3 separate regions of the Homo sapiens genome follow, and regions 2 and 3 are each linked to region 1. Evidence: promoter capture Hi-C in 16 types of primary human blood cells and fetal thymus (Javierre and others, 2016). All regions are on one chromosome and are shown on one strand. Each heading gives the region's core, a stretch centred on a gene start or on the middle of the fragment in contact. The rest is flanking DNA. Distances are from core to core; before and after follow the strand shown. Region 1 holds the start of ZBED2 (zinc finger BED-type containing 2). Region 2 overlaps PHLDB2 (pleckstrin homology like domain family B member 2). Region 3 overlaps PHLDB2 (pleckstrin homology like domain family B member 2).

Region 1 (4,830 bases), core at 813-3,312:
CAGAGTTTTACTTTGGTAGAAGCATTTATCTTTAATAGGTACATTTTAGAGTTTCGGCCAAGGGTCAGCAGAGCTCTAGGAACCTCGTAGATAAGCATTTGGTCAATTCAGACCTGCTCAGATTAACTCATACTGTGCACTATTTCACATAAAAGCAAAATGTCACCAAACTACTTTGCTTTACATTTGAGTTGAAACTAAAATGGCTCTTTTCTACAAGTCTAGAGTCAATGTTTTCAGAATAGATTCTCCAAGCCCAATTTAAACAAAATGGAAGGGATGTACTGCTGCAGGCAGCTCTTTCTCCCGCTGGCATGCCTCCTTCTCAGCCCTCACCTTCCACTTCATCTCCAGGATGGCCCTTTCCACCTCCTCCAGGGCTCGCTCCCTTTTTTCCACAGCCCTCTCCCGCCATTCCACTGCCCTTTCCCTCCTAAGCACCTCCTTTTCCCTTTGGCTGGCCCACAAAGCCATGGTGCCCACCTGCTCCAGGAGCCTACCCCAGTTACCCTCAATGCCTGTGGGGAGCTGGGGCCCGTGGGGCCTTGGATCCTGGCGCTGCCCAGCCTGACCATGGCCACTCTTCTCCAGCTCCTCTCTGTGCATGCTTTTCAGATGCTTCCACAGTGCAGTGGTGCCCACGTTGACCCCAGGGCCACGGCTCACCTGCCTGCCACACAGGCGGCAGGTGGCATACTGGTTGGGATGGTGCCCAGCACGAGCAGGAGCTAGGTGGAAATATTCCCATGCCTCAGAGAACCGGGTGCCCTTGTTGTGGGGCATTGGAGTGGGCATAGCACTCACAAAAGGGCCAACCAGTTCTCCTGTCTCACTAATCTCTTCCTCCTCCTTCATCTCTAAGTCCCCTTTTGCCTTCATCATTGTTCCCTCCTCTTCCTCGTCTTCCCGCCTCATCATGTCACCTCTTCTACAGCGTTCTTTATGATGTGCTTAGATGTGAGCCAAAAGCTTATTTGAACCACAAGATTAAATATATATTTGGGAAGGGCCTGTGGTAACTCTTGGGGATTCACAATAATGGCCAAAGTCTGGCCACACCTGGGTGGTGTGAGGTTTCTTCCTTTCTGCTTCACTGGAGAGTCAGGGGTGAGTCAGATACAAGCAAAACAGCCCAAGAGTGCATTCCTTCCATGCCCCAGATACTTACTTATCCTCCCTTGACTAGGCCAGAAAGACAAAACATATCAGTTCCTGTAGCAAAGGGGTTCTCTGGTCCAACAATTACAAAGCTCTTTGATGAACTCAGTGTTTTCTGCATCAACCACCACGACAGGTATTTTTGAATATTGAAAATTTTAGGTTTTCTTGTTTCTCCTCCTGGTTGTTTCCACTGTTTCTGTGCTTCTTATTTCCTATAATTGCATTTTGGAGGCAGGAGAAACAGCCTCAGGGTTCAGGCTTTTCAGGACCAACAGAGCTAGGGCCTCACTGGGTCTTGCTCAAAGTAGGTAAAAGCAAACACAGGCAGATGCTGGTGCAGGAGACAATCTTGCTTCCTAAGAACTGTTGCAACAAGCAATCCAGAGTAGACAAAGCCTATGAGGATCTGGATAATAAAGTTCCCAATGCAAGGTCAGTTTGTCCTTAGAGGTGTCTCTCAGAGGCCAGGAGTCTAAGAAATCCAAAAAGCAAGCTCAGCTGTTTCAGCAGGAGGAGCTGGGATGCACAGAGGAGAAGGTGGAGCACATCTTCACAAACACAGCGTTGCCTGGCTGTCCTTAGCAAGCAGCTCACCATACTCCACCTTCTCCACCAGGATCACCTGCAAAGCCAACAGCCAATAAGACCTTCCTGAGGCAACTTACTCCAGATGTTTTGCTCTTTACCTCATTTTAAAGATAAATAAGTAAATGGAAAATCATATTACATTTAAAAACAGCCCGACTTCTCTCTCCTTTCTTGGGTCATTTCTTAAACTAATGAGAGCTTTATTTAATCAAGCTCTGCAACCGTGAACAGTTAGGAAATTCCCCCCAGCCACAAGTGGGTACTTACAAGCAGGCAAGGCTCTGGACTTCTCTCTGATCTTTCCTGCGCAGAGTGAAAGCACTCCTGCACACCTTGGATGTCTATTAGCTGACTCCTACCCCCAGAAGGAGGGCACCTCCAGTTCTGGTTTCCTCCCACTTCTAGGGAAGCATTGTTTCCAGGTAGGTGTGTCTGTGCCTGTTGGGTTTTTCTGCAACACTTAGACACAGATGCAAACCTTTTCTCCACCCCCTCCACCACCAAGAAAAGGATGTTCCTGGCATATGTCATGCAGCAAAACAGTAAGTCAAGCACCTACAAGTCTTAGTTCTCTTTTTTGATGACTAGATTACCTAACCTCTCAAGTAAAGCAAGCGATTTGAAGGAGGAAGAGTGGGAAAGGCTGAAATATTAAATGTATACACACATATATATTATATATATACATACATTATATATAATATGCATAATATATATATGTGTGTGTATACATATTTAGATTGAGAAGGAAAACCTACCAAGAGGAGATAGGAAGACTCTAAAGAAGGTATCAATAGAAGAAGAAAAAACTTTGTGTTATAAAAGGAAAGATAGAAATGGCATTGCAGGCCAGGAGCCATGGATCTTGCCTGTAGTCCCAGCACTTTGGGAGGCCGAGGCAGGTGGATCACTTGAGGTCAGGAGATCGTGGCCAGCTTGGCCAACATTGTGAAACCCTGTCTCTACTAAAAATGCAAAAATTAGCCAGGTGTGGTGGTGCACGCCTGTAATCCCAGCTACTTGGGAGGCTGAAGCAAGAGAATTGCTTGAACCCGGGAGGTGGAGGTTGCAGTAAGCCAAGATCATGCCACTGCACTCCAGCCTGGGCGACAGAGGGAGACTCTGTCTCAAAAAAATAAATAAATAAAATGAATAAATAAAAATAAAAAAAGAAAGAAAAGAAAAAGAAATGGCATAGCAGAAAATATGTAGAGGTTGACAGTTAAATTAAAATAGAAAAAAAAGATGGGGGAAAAAGATTCAAAATAGGAATGAGACTGGGAGGAGTTTTAGAACATGAACCACATTTCTAAACCAAATCTTGGAACGCAAAGTCTAGAGAGAGTCTAGAATGTTTGAAATTTGGATCATTTCAGAAAATCTGAACCTAGAGAATTCATGAAAGTCAAATCTTTTCAAAATTTTTAGACGTTAACCAGAGTTCTTCAGTGAGCCAGTTGCCTTCGTAAAATAATAACACCCCCACTTACTCCTGATATTACCATATCGTCATCTTTGGTGGGTTAACTAAAGAGAAAGGAAATGAATCATAAGAATGGTTAATGTCACTGGATTAATGCAAAACTTTGTATCTTTTTCTTTTTTTAAAAAAACATTTTACCTCCTTTACCTTTTTGTCTCTTCCTGGACCAACTGGAGATAAAAATCAATCTTTGGCATCTATTGAATTAAACTGAACACTCTCCTTTACTTAATAAGAATGTATTTTAGAGGATCTGGTTTTGCTTTTAATTTTTTAGTGGAGAGACTAGCATCCCTGGCCCATATATGTATCCCCATTATCTGGAAAGGCAAGTGTTGAACGGATGGGAATACTGGGAGCTACGGTGTTTGCCACCCAGCATCTTGGATATGCTAGACAACCCCCTCTGAAATTCTCTTGTTTCATTGGGATTTCTGTAGCAATGTACTGAGAAATAGTAAACTTCTGTAGGATTTCACCAGGAAAATGTTAGTTAGCATTCTCGAATTTGGTTTCTCAGCTCTATAGGCCCAGACTTCTTGGGAGTAACTAGTCTGAGGATTGGCACACAAATCATCACATACATTTAATTGTTCTTTACATGTTAACTAGTATATTCATTAATTGTGGAAAATATCTGAGAACTAAGAACTAGGGCTGGTCATATGTAAAATATATACATCTCTTGATGAGAAAACAAGTAATTATAAAAGGAATTATAATTTTGAAGAGTCTCAGATAAAACAATGGGAATCCAATAATTCTCACTGGATATTTTCACCAGACTGTAAAAGAAAGTATCATCCCCCAAAGAACAAACATAGCATTGAAAATAAAACATAACTAGCCCTGCATCTAAGTTCTCTGCTTTCATAATATAGTTACTTCTTTCATTTTTTTATTTCAATACAATTTTTATTAAAAAATATGTTGGACTGAGATTAAGGAGACATGGTTTCTAATTGTGCCATTAACTATTTTCCACTTCCTCGAACCACTGGGTGCCTTGATTTTTCCATTGGTCAAATGGCAAAAATAAGGCATGCTCTACCTATCCTTAAGATTAAGCCAATGAATTGTTTTTAAAAATTAGGAAAATGCTTCACAAGTAAAAAGTAGGATATTTATATAAATCGTTTTCTGTGATTGTTACAAATAGTGTCGTACATTATTTGGAGCACAGAAACAGCTTGTAGATCCCCTTGAGCTTTTAATCTAACAGACTATTCTTCTCTGGCCTCTGTTTGCTATAGCTTCTTCCTTCTATTCTTTGGTTTCCATTTAGTATTATTTTATTCTGCCTACACAGAGTTAAGATTTCTCCTTTACAGAACCCAGAATCCAGACTTGGAACATTAGTATAGTCCTAGATCCTTAAGTTGACCTAGGAGTATAGCCAGAAGTTTATAACATCTCTATAGGAGATAGCCCATTTATAGTGCACGTTCTAACACAACCTATATTAAAAGTAGACATTGCCTTCTATTTATTCAGTTAAAAATGGAGAAACTCTTTTTTGCCAACTTATATGAATGTTAGTAAGTTGTAAGGAGTACCAGTTTCTTAGGAATTTGCAAATAATCCTTTTTCTGTCTTTA
Region 2 (4,350 bases), core at 210-2,709, 330 kb after region 1:
TGTATTTTTCCTAAAAGGCCAAAATGAAGTCAAAGAGTTGACTGTCTAAGTCTGCAGTACTGAAGGATTCAGTTAATGGCTATGCTTTTCAAAGATTCTGCAAGAAGCCTTCATTGGAGGCATCAGATGTCTTGTGTTAATATTTTATTATCAAGTAAATATTAATTAAATTAAGTAATAGTAGAGTAGTTTTATTGCTATGTATATCATATTGGAAAACTCGTGCAACATAGGAATTAGGTATCATGTTCCCTGTGAACCCTCCTGCCATCCTAATCCATGTAGTTATTTATTTTGTGTATCTCACATATGGCATGGCCTGCAAATTCTATTTGTGTATTTCTCATTAATATCAGATTCTACACAAAAGTGAAGCAAGTTGAGCCAATGTTAAATCTCACTTCCCAGGGAAAGTTATCTTATGTTTTCAAGGTGGAATTCTCAGGTGGAATTCTAGGAACACGGGCAGAAACAAGCAAGGAAGCTACCTCCATCCTTCCTAATATTGTTTTGATGGCTTGACAGAGGCTATGCACTGGAGAGGGGACTACAGGGGCTTGACGCATAGGACCAGCTCATACAGCTATGAGGGAATTAGTTGGTCTTAGAAGGTAGGATTATTCTCTGTCATTACATCATGTGAAAAATGGCAGAAACTGGCTTGGGGTGAGGAACTCCAGAAGAGGATGTGGGAAGTGGAAACAAAGACTGGTCTAGATGATGTTACTACGTATTCTTGACAACTAAACTCAAATAGAGACTCAACACAGCTTGGCAAAAACATTATTATGTTTCTCAAATAAATTTATTCCACCATTTAATGACACAGCTATTTCATACACTCTGTTCATACTCCTGGCCAACTTTCATCCCTCTGGCTCAGAGATCATCTTACCATAGAGAAATTAGAAGCATCCCATCTTCTCACAATGAAGGCGGGGTTCCCTCCTTCCATCAAAGACCACTCCCTTTGGATGTGCTCTGGGTGTCATCCTATCCCACCTTCTTGAGGTCTTCAGTCTTTCTGCACCCTCACCCCCTGGGGTCAGTTTCTCTCTCTTTACTGTCAGCATGCCAATATTATTATTTTTAAAATAAATTACTACTTTATCGATTAACGATAAGCTACTACCTTATCTCTCTTCTCTTCATCATAGCTAAACTTATTAAACAATTTTCTGGGTATACTGTGTCTCCTTTTCTTCATTTTCCAATTAAACATTCTTCCCACTCCAGTTGGCTTAGACCTCTACTCCTCCATCAGATTCTCTCCTGTTAAGACTACTAAAGACCTCAGTGGTGCCCAGCCTGCTGGGTGCTTTTCAGTCCCCTCATGATCAGACTCCCGAGCAGCATTCAGTACAGGGGACAGCTCTTTTCTTGGTGCTTCTTCACTGTCTCCCTTTTGTTTGCCTCTGTGTACCACAATCTTCTGGTTTTCCATCTATTTCTCTTACCTCTTTCTCACTCTTTATCTCTCATCTGAACTCAGTTCTCTTGTACCCTCATGTCCTTCTATAGCTATGGCTTCAAATAACTTGTATATGCTGGTGACTATCATAGGGATTTCTCTAGTTCATAACCCTTTTTGGAATTCTGACTCATATCCTGTGCCTACCTGACATCCCCACTTGGATATTTCATGGGTATTTCCAATTGAACACACCCATAACTGAACTCTTGATCTTATCTTTTCCCTTGCCTTCCACCCTCCACCCTCCATCCTCTAGTTTTTCCAACCAGGAGATTGCATCTCTATTCACCTATATGTTCAACAGAAACCTGGAAATTGATCTTGACACGTCTTTCCTTATCATCCCTACATTCAGTTGATTACCAGCTTGTTTCTTGATTGCTTCAACATCTCTGCATCTCCACTAACAGCATTCTCTTCTCTATTATGAAAATCTCTTATTTAGTCTACTTCCACTTGCTTTCCTTCAATCCATTCTCTTCACAGCAGCCAATGTGATTAAAAAGAAGAAATTAGACCATATTACTGTGGTTTGCATCACACTGTACTTGACTATGCATCCAAATTCCGTAGTGTGATCTGTCACCAGCCTTTCTGTCACCACCCTCCCATTCTTCACAGCACTCTCAGAGTCACCTTCCTTTCTATCTTTCTGTTTGTTAAAAGATTCATCCTCCCCCAACCCCAGTCCTTTGCAGATACTGTTTTCCCCTACCTGGAATTCCCTTCCTCATATTCCATGCCTCATTGGTTCTGTCTTTCAGGGCTCAAGATCAGTGTTAGTTTTTCAGAAAAGCCCTCCTAGACCTTTCCAGTTCGGGTTAGATTTTCCCTGTTGTTCTTTTTACAGATAAACATTTTATAATTTATGTTTGTTTTGAGCCTACTAGACATTTATATCCCACTCTAGCCTGTGAAATAGAGGAGGGCACTAGGGCACTGTGATCCACTGTTTATCCAGCCCGTAGCATGTGCCAGGCAGGATACTGCCCAGTGTGCTTACGAATATTGTTGTTGGATTTTCCTGCTAATGGCTGGTCCAGGCTGGGCCTTAGCAAAACACTGAGCCAAACACCTGCCAAAGAGTGCAGCCAAGTTTCAGGACAGCTGGGCTGGGCTGCCCGTGTGCATATGCCAGGAGGCCTGTAGTCACACGGCCCATCATGCCAAAGCGTAAGACAGAAGGAGGAAGTGGCCTTTCCCCTTAGGGATCGTGTTTCCTTTTCCATACACCTGTTGCTGTGGTCAGATATAAACCATGGAATGAGAAAAGCAAAACCTGAAAAGATATCTCTGTTGGGCAAGCTCCGATTCAGATGTTAATAGTACATCCTGTAAGCCTGGCTCTAGAATTTTGGAGACAAGGCCGGAGCCATAGGAAAAAGGTTTAATAATACCTCAGAATGCCTCCCCATTCAAATCTTTTGTTTTTTATTTTTTTGGGACAGAGTCTCTCTCTGTTGCCCAGGCTGGAGTGCAGTGGCTTAACATTGGCTCAGTGCAACCTCCTCTTCCCAGGTTCAAGTGATTCTCCTGCCTCAGCCTCCCGAGTAGTTGGGATTACAGACTCCCACCATGACACTCAGCTAATTTTTACATTTTTAATAGAGACGGAGTTTCGTCATGTTGTCCAGGCTGGTCTCGAATGCCTGACCTCAGGTGATCTGCCTGCCTTGGCCTCCCAAAGTGCTGGGATTACAGGTGTGAGCCACCAAGCCCAGACATCAGCATTCAAATCTTGATATGAAATTACTGATGTTATTTTTTTGGCTCTGAAGATTGGTCTTTAGTGTTACTTCTTTTAGCTGATTTAGGAATGCATTTTATTTTGCACATTCGTTACCCTATAAAATATAAACCATAGGCATACTTCTATAGAAAACATAAAATATAGTCAGTTTGTTCTACTGTGTATTTATTGAACATTTTTGCAGCAGTTTCCTGCACTGGCCTTTTATTACCCTTAGGGGTACCACTGTTACGAACATCAATAACCCTGTTTCCATCTGACCTTGAGATACATGCCACCTGCCGGTTGTGTTCTCGGATAGTAGCCACATCACAGATGGAGCCACTATGAACATTGATAAAGCTTAAACAAGGATCTAACTCAGACATAAATCTGGAGGGTATATTTACTTGGTGAAGCAGTAAGCAAAGAGACCATCACATTTTCTTATAGCAAGTGAAAGAAGATTGGGACCTCTGGTCTAGCAAACTGTTTTCATTTAATGGGCCTGGTGACAGAGTAGGGAAACCGCTAGCACCATGAAGCCCAGCTTGGGCAAAGGCCTGACTGTGGAACTGGCTTCCTTCCCTTCTACTCCCCATCCCCATTCCAAGGCAGAGCCTGATCTCAGGCAATGGCTAAGAAGATACGGATGTGTGCATCTGTTTGCGTAGGTTTTCTGTCTCTATTTCTAGCTGTGTTAAAAATTTGAAACTAAAAATATTTTTCAATTTCTTCTATTTATGGATTATCTGTTTTATCTGTGCTTCTTTTTAGCGCACAAAAATCAAGTCAGTTGTACCAAAATTAAATAAAATGGTTAAGAAAAGCTTCTGATTCAGTAGACGTGCTGAGGGGTCTTCCCATGACCCAGATGATAAACATATATCTCAAACTATCCTTTTGTTTAAGGACAAATATTGTGTGTCTTCACACAGATGCATTGTTATATTTTGTAGCCATCCTAGCCTGCACTCTTAAACACATGAAACACACTTAAAGTTTTGAACTGAAGCTTAAATCATTCTGTGCCATACAACATGTACCTGAATGAAATCTTAAATTCTTTGACTTCCTAATGTTTCTACAGTAAGCATATATCATTGCATGTTAAATGGTTAAATCTTTTTTCCCACGATTTTCTGGC
Region 3 (4,919 bases), core at 1,345-3,844, 360 kb after region 1:
ACACAGAACAGATGATTTCAATAAAATGTGGTAAATGAAATAATGGCGGTATGCCCAGGATATAAATGGAAATGCTTTGGGGATGGCAGGCATTTGGCCTTCAAATACATTCATGCAGTGATGGGATTCAAATCCTCCCCTCTAAGCAGGCTGGAATTCGATTCTAGCTCTTTGGCCTCTCTGCCAATGGTACTGAGAGATAACACTGGTTTTCCATCAGGGGAAAATATATATATACACACACACACACACGCACATATATGTAATACATATATGCTACATATACATACATAAATTTATATATATGTGCACATAATGTGTATTGTGTATGTATATATGATATATATATATATATCTCTCACTGGAACGAGGTTTTCAAATCATTACTAAAGGCGATTTAAAAATTAGAGGGTATAGTATTCATAATAGGTTTATAATGTGTAAGAGACATTTGCAGTGGTAATATTTGAATCAAATAAACTGATTGAACTATTTTATTTTCTTTGCCATAATTTCTTAATAAGCTAAACATATTCTTTTGATGTTTATAAATAATAAACATAAATCCATCTATTTTGGCTCTCATTTATCACTGTTAAGTTGTGGGTCAAGTCTATTTGCTGTTGAAACATTTTTCTGTAATATTTACATATAAATATTTGAGACAAGGTCTCACTCTGTTGTCCAGGCTGGAATGCAGTGGTGTGTGATTATAGCTCACTGCAAACTCTGCCACCTGGGTTCAAGTGATCCTCCCACCTCAGCCTCTCGAGTAAGCTGGAACTATAGGTGTGTGCTACCACACCTGGCTGATTTTTGTATTTTTTGGCAGAGATGGGTTTTTGTCATGTTTCCCAGGATGGTCTCGACCTCCTGGGCTCCAGTGATCTCCCACCTTGGCCTCCCAAAGTGCTGGGATTACAGGCATGTATTAGACTTCTTTTTAAATATATTTTTCCCACCGTCGGAAGACATCAAAGCTTAGATTGGCCACAACACCAACAAAGACCATTAAGCATTTTCATGTACTTCAGGTGTTTAATTGAAAGAGCAAGCATTTGGGAAAGAGGGTGGGATCACAAATTACTATACTCCATGTTAAAAGCATTTTCTTGCCAGGTGTGGTGGCTCATGCCTCTACTCTCAGCACCTTGGGAGGCTGAGGAGGGAAGATTGCTTAAGAATTTGAGACCAGCCTGGGCAACATAGTGAGATCCCATCTCTACAAGTAATTTAAAAATTAGCCAGGCATGGTGGCATGCACCTGTGGTCCCCACCACTCAGGAGGCTGAGGTAGGAGGATCGCTTGAGCCTGGGAGTCAAGGCTGTAGTGAGCTGCCATCATGCCACTACACTACAGCCTAGGCAACAGAGCAAGACCCTGTCTCAAAAAATAAATTAATAAATAAAAGTATTTTCTCAAAGAGTAAGAAAAACTAGAACTTTATAGTAAATAAATAGATTAGCAAAACTCAAGAGCCATTAACATTACCATTTAAGAGGATTTTGTGAGAATATGGTGAAACCGAGGGAAGGTTTGATCTCAGTTATTCTAATCTGTTTTCCCCTGAAGTAATGGGAATCCCATGCCAGTTTCATAGAGGAAAACTGAGCTAATTCCCTTAGGCCACATTACTGATGTTCCCGTTGCAAAATCAAATCTGTCTTTGATTTATCTTTAGTGCTCTTGTTCTTTATTGATACGTCCTTTATGCAGCTCAGAAGACTGCAACTTCAGTCTTTCTCTGCTGTAACTGTGAAGTGCTCTTCCTCTTGAAGAGTTTCATGTAATTCTGATGGGGCAGCTTCTGAGGAAATAAAGAACCATTATATGCGTGTTGGTCCAAGGAGATGTGTTCTGAAAAGACAGCCTGCTGCCTTTGGCTCCCCTACCCAGAGGAGGAGAAGTCAGGGTCTATAGTTCTTAGAACCCCAGCAGACTGTAAAACTGGCAGGATTTTCTACACAGCCCAAACTGGTGGTTCACAAAAAACCCAGGAGGGATGGATCATAATTTCATTTAGAATTGTTTGACTAGCACTTGTTAACTTTATTAAAATAGCAAATACAAGTAAAATTCTATGGATTTGAAAAAAATTATACCTGGCATATTTTCACTAACTCACATTTAGTAGACTTTAATCATCTTTTAAACTTACACAATTAACTTAAATACACCTTTTTTTGCTGCTATTCGTAATGGATACATCAAGGATGATGGTGTAAGTATAAGCCTTAATCAGCACTGTTAATAGAACTGACAGCGTGAGTCGTGCAAAGAACTTTGAGAGGAGAGTTTAAAACAGAGAGCTGAGAAACTCAGCTTCTGAAGTTGGAATGGTTATTGGCTTTTGAACAACTTGTGAACTATTCCTTTGTCAGCTTTAGAATGAATGAAATCTTTGTCCTTTTGTTTTTTGTTAAATACAGGAAAGTCCAAGAAAGGTATGACAACCTCCTTGTGTGGTGTTTTTGTTTCCAGCAAATATTGAAAGGTCATTGTCAAGTCATGTTTAAGAAATGATCAGATTTAACACTGTGCAGTGGTGGATTTTTAGTCTAATGATTATTTCTTTTACACAATAGAGAAAAATTGTTGCACATTTGCAAGAAACACAATGCTGGGTGCAGCTGCTGTTCATTCACTGGCAGCTGCATGACCCTCTTTGTTTTGGCTTTTAATCGCAAGGTCAGACCCTGCAGGAAACATGAGTGCTGTGGAAGCATTGTTTTGTAAGATTCAGGATCTATATAAAGAGAATAGAGGGTATTGTGATGTATATGAGCTAAGTGTAAACCATGATTCTCCTTTAAAAAGGACAGGTATAAATAAGTCAGGCTACAGTCAAAGGATGAAAGGATTTAGGAAGCTCCTACTTATTCATTTCATTGGAGCCTGTTTTCTAAGAAAGACTTAGTGGAGAGTGAAGTATAGTTTAAATGATTGGCTTGAATAAGTAAGATGGTTATTTCCTGTGGCTAGGTGGTAGAGATGTAGGATGTTAGACGATGTGTTATAAAACTTGATGAACTGTGCTTCAAATAATTGAATGGCATTTTACAAACTTGAGCTCTTAAAAACTATTTGCTATTGTCTGTTTGGAAAAAGAATTGTTTGATAGATATAATCTGTTTTTATTCTTCCTATTTTCTGGTTGATGAATATGTGTGAAAGATTTATTTGTCTTGTAACAGTCTTTTTTGACTATGCATGTATCAATTTTTTTTAAGGTTTCTTGAGTTTTTCTCTGTAAACTTGGATTTAATCTGAAACTGTGAACATCATACCTTGTTAATTTGCTATTGTAACTAACACCATCAATGAGTGCATGTTGGAAGTGTTGTATGTTTTTCCTGCCCCCTTGTCATCCTTTTTGATCTTGTATCTTTTTCCCTTTCTACAATCATTCTCCCTCTTCATTCCTGACTTGTCCTGTGCCCTCTTCTTCTGGCTGTGGACTGTCATTAGGAAGAATGAATTCCTCAGCAGGTGAGCTATGACAGGCTGAATTGTTAGAAATACTGGTTAATTTTATCCTCTTAACCCCAGGTTATACTTTAAGTCATCTTACTTTCTATATTACAGCCCAGATAGCCATGTAAAAGTATATACCACATATTGGGAATGTATTGGCAGGACTCTACACATTGTGTAATCGTTAACTCACAAGAGACTTTTCAGGTCCAATTAGCCAGAATTAATAGAGACTGGCATTAAAAATAATAATAATAAATGGGCCTTGCACATTTGGTCCCTTGGCTGTCCCAGGCAGTGAAGAGCTGAACTGGTTTGGGTTCCTTGTGTGGCTATGATTAGAAACAAGCCTCAATTAGGTCTTGCTTTATACACCTTATAAACTACCCCTTCAAACAGCTATTTCTCTCTGGATAGGAAGGATTTAGAGCATTTTCAAGGCCCTTTTTACTGTTTTAGTTGCTTTCCCACTGATTAATGTTATTCTTGCTACATAATTAAAAAACAGAAACCAAATAGTCTCAGGGGTTGGGAAAGTCTCATTTTTCCCAATCTTGTTTCTTTGCTCCCCCTCAAAAAGTAGATGCATTCCACTTCCTTATTTGACTATTTATATAGAATATATAGATGAAAAGATAAATTCATTCAGTGACTGTTTATCTTATGACATCCACATGCCAAATAAATGGAGGTAAACTGTGGTGCACAGGACATCTGCATCCCCTTTCCTGATAAAGCTTCAATGAGAGTGGAGGCCTAGGCCAGTTTACTGCCATTCTAGTGTTCCTTCACTGCACCAGCATCTCTCCTTGGGCCTCCTACCAGGTTACCCAGCCCCGTCCCCTGATCTTCTATGACGTTTCCTCTGTTTAAAATATCTATGCCTTTGGATGGCCAGGCCAGAGCCTGAATCCCAAAATGAGCTCTTTGGAATCACACTGGTTCAATTGCAGGATCACAGGAGAGGGGCCCATGCCCGTATTGATAATTGCAGGGGTTACCTGTTTTTGGGGGATTTGTTCAGCAGGGAGGAAGCTAGGCCAGGTGACAGTGGGGTTCACTGAGGTCAGTAAAGTGTTGCCAGTAGGCAGAAATGAGTAGCTCCATGAGGTGAACTTTTCCACTCACTTTGGATTCATGGGAAATAAAAATCATGGGTTGGGAAAAAGATGCTTATTATTGGCCTCATGCTTTTTCGTTTAAGTTGCCATGAAAATGTAAAATGCTTATCCTACCACCAGAATGACTGGGAGATTCAGTCGTAGAGTCAAACCTCAACAACTTGTGAGTTGGTCTGGGGAATTAATATTCACAACCCTTAGCACAGTACAAATTGTAATGTAGCTGGCCCTTCTACATTCACCTGAAACATCTGAGTCATTTTAGTTTACTATCTCCTTCACCTGTAAGTTCTATTTTGTTATTCTGTGTTACTTTTGGAAAA

The links. Contacts are between HindIII fragments. The CHiCAGO score rates a contact against its expected background, and 5 or more counts as called.
Region 2: a contact is called between a fragment that was not itself captured here and the fragment with the promoter of ZBED2 in region 1, in 1 of 17 cell types (neutrophils). The highest score is 5.3, in neutrophils.
Region 3: a contact is called between a fragment that was not itself captured here and the fragment with the promoter of ZBED2 in region 1, in 1 of 17 cell types (neutrophils). The highest score is 7.1, in neutrophils.

Annotation. Positions count from the first base shown.
Region 1 is chr3:111,593,284-111,598,113 of GRCh38, forward strand. ZBED2 (zinc finger BED-type containing 2) reads right to left here and starts at 2,063. Exons shown (of 2, transcript NM_024508.5): 1 at 2,017-2,063; 2 at 1-1,783. The coding sequence starts at 918. The coding sequence ends at 262. The region is part of intron 5 of CD96 (CD96 molecule); the gene reads left to right. The HindIII fragment of the contact is 5,050 bases long and covers 968-4,830 here.
Region 2 is chr3:111,921,932-111,926,281 of GRCh38, forward strand. The region is part of intron 5 of PHLDB2 (pleckstrin homology like domain family B member 2); the gene reads left to right. Among named protein-coding and RNA genes, the nearest start is that of ABHD10, 55 kb to the right of the region's middle. The HindIII fragment of the contact is 4,210 bases long and covers 1-3,564 here.
Region 3 is chr3:111,954,806-111,959,724 of GRCh38, forward strand. All of the region lies in intron 12 of PHLDB2 (pleckstrin homology like domain family B member 2), which reads left to right. Among named protein-coding and RNA genes, the nearest start is that of ABHD10, 22 kb to the right of the region's middle. RefSeq lists a silencer at 2,677-2,971. The HindIII fragment of the contact is 3,232 bases long and covers 979-4,210 here.